Linked DNA regions of Homo sapiens: region 2 is linked to region 1. Evidence: promoter capture Hi-C in 16 types of primary human blood cells and fetal thymus (Javierre and others, 2016). All regions are on one chromosome and are shown on one strand. The core of a region is centred on a gene start or on the middle of the fragment in contact, and the rest is flanking DNA. Distances in the headings are between cores, read along the strand shown. Region 1 holds the start of TXNRD3 (thioredoxin reductase 3). Region 2 holds the start of C3orf22 (chromosome 3 open reading frame 22).

Region 1 (2,634 bases), core at 46-2,545:
CCAGGGAATAGTCAGCAACGAAAATTAATGAACCCCAGCTACAGATACTAACATGCATGAATCTCTGAAACATAACTGTTGAGGAAGAAAACTGCAGAAGAATACCTATGTATGTATGGTTCTATTTATATCAAGTCCCAAAACAGGCCAAAAGGAACCAAATATTGATGAATAATATATATATTTGGTAAAAATGTAAAAAAAAAAAAAGGAAATTTTGCATAGTGGTTAACCCTGAGGGAGGGAGGAGACAGCCAAGGAAGCTTCTACAGTACTAGTGTCACTTTATTATTCTTAAAAATATATATGCATAATATATGTTTTAAGAAACTATACACATCAATGTAAACTTCAAATATATTTGAAAAACACAGCCTATAATTTCATGAACTCAACCCAATAGTTTATGCTTTTGCATACTGTCTTCCACGTATCATTTTTCAACTTTCTGTAAAATGAAGTAAATTCCTAAACGTTGAAAGTCTGTACCTTACACGTAGGTTATCACCCAAAGGCTCGTTTCTAAGTGAAGTATTCTTAAACACAGAATACATTTGTCCTTAGAAATAATGCCGGATTCCTAGTCCGCCCCGAAAAGTTAAGGCAGTGTGCATGAAGCTGAAATTACCTCAGTCGTCCTAACAACCTTCCCGTACCTTCGTTTCACAAACGGGGGAACTGAGGCTCTGCACAGGGTCCTAACCCGGGTCGAGGTCACGCAATTAGGAGAGTTTCTGTTTTGATAAACTATCACAAGCCCACCTCAGGGGACGACCGGGGAGAGGAGAGGACGGACGGCTGACCTCACCGCCGCAGCCCGGGACCCGCGGGCGCCCCGGCCCGGACCCGCCCTGCCCCGGGTGGCGTCCGCGTGGCGGGCCCGGTCGCGCGCGGTGGAACCGGCGAGGGCCGCGCCTACCCGAGTACTATGGGGACAGTAGCTCTTGCTGAAGATCACCACCCGGCTGCGCTCGATGAGGCCCACGAGGTGGCGGCGCAGCTCCTCGCGGGCCTCGGACGAGCGGCTGGGCCCGGGGGACGACAGGCGGGCACGGCGCCCCGGCGGCGACAACACGCGCGCCCCTCGGACATGGCCCGAGCGGCGGTTGGGGGCATCGCCCGCCTTTCCCGGCCCGGGCGACTGCGGCGGCGACCGCTCCAGAGTCTCGCTCTCGCTCCTGGCCCGGCCGGGCCTGCTCACAAACCGAAACGCAGGCGGCTGCGGCGCCGGGACGGGGCCTGAGGGGCGGCGAACGCTGCCCTCGCTGGCCACTCTCACCACCCGCGCGAATCCGCGAGGCAGCCGCTCGCCCCGCCCCCCAACACCGCCCCGCGCATGCGAAATTGGGTCCCCCGCCCGCCCGCAGCCTAGGTGTCACCTGCCCTTCGCAAAGGGGCGGGTACCAAGCGCGAGCCTCTTTATCTCCAGGTTGTGCCTGCGTCCGGAGACCACCCAATCTTGGCGATGGCGCTCTGAGATGGCCTCTGTGCAATGCCTTTTACTCCTAATAATCCCCAACAGCCCCTTTAAACCACCTTAAAATATACGTTCTTCAATTTTTATGGGAAGTGTGAATTGGAAAGATTGATATTTTTAAAAGTTTAGATCACACAAGCTAAATAAATATATTGCGTTTGCTATTGCAATGCAGCTTTAATGAGTTTCCTAGGTTGCTACCCGTCAGTTCCCTTCTACATAGAATTCCAGAGCCGCCCCTAACAAAGGGACTCTGAAACCGCGAGAAGAGGAATCCTCTGTCCATTTCGGTGGATGAGTGGAAGACCTCGGAGCTGAACTTGCCTGCAGTGACTGAGTTAGCCGGTCATGGTGGCGGGTGCCTGTAGTCCCAGCTACTTGGGAGGCTGAGGCAGGAGAATGGCGTGAACCTGGGAGGCGGAGCTTGCAGTGAGCCGAGATGGCGCCACTGCACTCCAGCCTGGGCAACAGAGCGAGACTCCGTCTCAAAAAAAAAAAACAAAACCAAAAACAAAAACCTGGAGTTTCCTTCTTCTCAACAATTCTTTACATTTCAGTTAAGTCCTCTAGGCGGAACCCATGCAATAACCAGAGCAGGGGAAGGAGCCTAGTAGGTACTTTATGCTTTTTGTTAACCTGTGCACTCAGCGATGCTGGAGTGCCTGTCATGTGCCAGATACTGTGCTGGGCGCTGCGGATTTGGCAGAGAATGAGGCTGGCCGCCCTGCTCCTATGAGGTGTGGCTGCGTCTCTCCATCTCCTGGGTCCCATGAGGCACAACCAGTCATGGGGCCATTGTTCAGGTGAGGACACATGTCCAGGATGAGGGGGGAGTGTGTGGAAGCTACGGGCCTTGAAGTCAGGTGCATCCTCCTTTTCCCTGAGACTAATCTGTGGACATGACCCATGTCCCCAGCCGTCGCCCTCAGGGAGGTCGCAGGGCTGGCCGGGTCCCTGCGTGAAGTTTCATCTAGCACCCAATCACAGTGCCTGTGATTTTCACATTAGCTTGGGTCCTCCTCTTTGAGCCGTGAGGGGGAGTAATCAGGGGCACAGACCATGACACTCTTGCATGGCACAGCCTGGCCCATCACACAACATTGATGGGTCATTGACATGGGCAGCCTGAAGGAAACAGACATTGATGGGTCCAGTGA
Region 2 (2,634 bases), core at 51-2,550, 96 kb before region 1:
GAGACCAGCCTGTCTGTGAGCCAGAACACACCCGCTCACCCACCGCCTCCGTGCCCCATCTCTGACTCTGGAAGATCAGCCATCCAGAGGGCCTTTGCCCTGGCCCAGAAATACTGCCAGCCCTGCTCACGACCTGTCCCTTGCCCGCACCAAGAAGTCCCTGGGCCCTGAAGGGCAGGCTTCCCCACTGACTTGCCCACTAGTCTAGTACAGGGTGCAGCTCTCTACACCAGTGCTGGCTAAAGGGGGTCTTGGTGGCCTCCGCCCCTGCAGCCCTGGCTGTTCTGAGGACTCTGGGATGCCTTCGCTGGGCCTAAGCCCACAGTCCTGCAGCCACAGCCTGGGCCAGGCCCCAGCTCAGCCCCTTCCTGTCAGGTGCACTTGGGTGAGTCACCTCCAGCCCAGGCTCAACCCTGAGGAGTGCGGGGCAGGGGAAGCCTGGGCCGGGACAGGCAGCAGGGCCACAGCAGGAGGCTGCAGAATGGTGCCTGTGGCCTCTAAGTGTCTGCTACATTCTATGCATAACCTCACTTCATTTTTTTTCTACCTGATGGAGAACGTATTATGCTCACCCCCATAATTCAAGTGAGGAAACTGAGGCTCCGGAAAGTTAACTGATTTGCCTGCATTCACACAGTGAGTCGGGGAAGAGGTTCAGGATGGGTGGCCTGTGCTCCTCCTGCTGGGCCATGCAGCCTCAAACAGTCCTGAACCGGGGAAGCAGCATTACCACAGGAATTGAGGGATCAAGGGAGACAGGAGCGCCCCTCAGCCCCACCCCATACCCTCCCACCTGACCCCTAGGTCATGGAGATGACCCTGTAAGCTGACTGCTGAATCTGCCCCACAGGGACAGGGCTGCTGCAGAGTCCAGGGCTGCCCTCTGCCATCATGACCCTGTCCCAGGCTCTTCTCCGCCACCCTGTTGCTGCTTCCCAAGTCCCTAACCGACTTGGGGACTGTCCTTTCCAGCCACACAGGCTGCTAGCACTCACCAGGCAGCTACCTTGAATTCTGGCAGTGACGATGATCAGGTGTGATCAGAGAGTCCTGGAACTGCTCCTATCCAGCAAGATGCTGGTGTGAGAGCCGCTGTGGCCCCCGAGGCTGGCAGGGCCCTGGCTACAGCCCTCTCTGGAAAGACCCAGTCCCAGGCTATGCCCAGAGCTTCCAGCCAGAAAGGACAAGCTGCAGGACCCTGTGGGCTGGCTTATGTGACGCCAGGCAGACTGAAGCTGGCCATGGTCCCAGCTGCCACATTACCACAGGAACAGCAGCCCCAGGGTCCCCGGACAGGCAGTGCCAACAAGCTCACTGCAAGGTCAGAAGCCCTTGAGGTCACAATTGGTGACATCACAGCTGCTGACCCATGAGGCTCAGACTCCAGCCTGAAGCCCCTCTGGCCCAGGGAGTGACTGCAAAGTCAGCAGCACATGGGCCAGGGCTGGCCAGCCTCTCAGCTCCACGCACCCAGACAGAAGCATCCACATCTGCACTCTTCATAGCAGAGACCTCTCCCTGTTCAGGTTCTGCATACAGAAGAGACGCCCAGAAATAGGTACAGACACTGAGGCTGCAGAAAAGCTGTTTCTGTGGAGGAGTGGACACCAGGTTGCAGGGGGTTGAGGAAGGAGAAGGCAGTGAAGGAGCTGAACTGGAAGTGGTTCAGCCGTTCACCTGTGCCACTGTCTACTGTACCCTACGACTTTTCACTTATTAGTGCTGTTCACCTGTGCCACTGTCTGCTATACCCTACGGCTTTTTACTTATTAGTGCTAACAGGGTTTTTATGGATTATTTAGGGTTTTCTATATGCCATCTGTGAACGGAGGTAACTTCACTTCTTCCTTTCCAATTCGAATGCTTTATATTTCCTTTTCTTGCTTAGTTGCTCTGGCTAGAACTTCCAGTACTGTGTTAAATAGAACTGGGGAAGGTGGGCATCCTTGTCTCCTTCTTGATCTTAGAGAAAAAGTTTCCAGTTTTTCACTATACAGTATGGTGTTGGCTGTGGGATTTTTGGATATATTGCCTTTATCATGTTAAGGAGTTGAGTGTTTTTATCATGAAAGAGTGTTCAATTTTGTCAAGCGTGTTTTCCACATCAATTGAAATGATCATGTCTTTTCCTCCTCATTCTAATAATGTAGTGTAGTACATTGATATTTTCATTATGAAAAAATAATCCTTACATTCTAGGGATAAATATTACTTGTTAATAGTGTGTAACACTTTTAATATGCTGATGAATTTCATTTACTAATATTTCATTGAGGATTTTTGCATGTGTATTCATAAGGGATATTGGCCCCTAGTTTTCCTTTCTTGTAGGGTCTTTGTCTGACTTTGGTATTAGGGCAATGCTGGCCTCACAGAATGAGTTAGGAAATGGTCCCACCTCTTCAACTTTTAGAAAAACTTTGAAAAACATTTATGTATGTTCTTTAGTAAGTGTTTGTTAGAATTCACGAGTGATATCATGTGGCCCAGGGCTTTTCTTCGTTACTGATTCAATCTCTTTACTAGTTATGAGTCTATTCATATTTTCTATTTCTCCCTGATTCAGTCTTGTTGGTTTTTTTTTTTTTTGTTTCTAGAAATTTGTCCATTTTATCTAGGTTATCCAATTTGTTG

The links. Contacts are between HindIII fragments. The CHiCAGO score rates a contact against its expected background, and 5 or more counts as called.
Region 2: the fragment with the promoter of C3orf22 here is called in contact with the fragment with the promoter of TXNRD3 in region 1 in 6 of 17 cell types (M0 macrophages, megakaryocytes, M2 macrophages and 3 more); the score reaches 11.4 in M0 macrophages.

The regions. Positions count from the first base shown.
Region 1 is chr3:126,653,829-126,656,462 of GRCh38, forward strand. It overlaps TXNRD3 (thioredoxin reductase 3), which reads right to left and starts at 1,296. Exons shown (of 16, transcript NM_052883.3): 1 at 920-1,296. The coding sequence starts at 1,162. The HindIII fragment of the contact is 4,771 bases long and covers 262-2,634 here.
Region 2 is chr3:126,557,632-126,560,265 of GRCh38, forward strand. C3orf22 (chromosome 3 open reading frame 22) reads right to left here and starts at 1,301. Exons shown (of 4, transcript NM_152533.3): 1 at 996-1,301. LOC105374090 (a long non-coding RNA gene) reads left to right here and starts at 1,382. Exons shown (of 3, transcript XR_924455.2): 1 at 1,382-1,558. The HindIII fragment of the contact is 5,245 bases long and covers 1-2,634 here.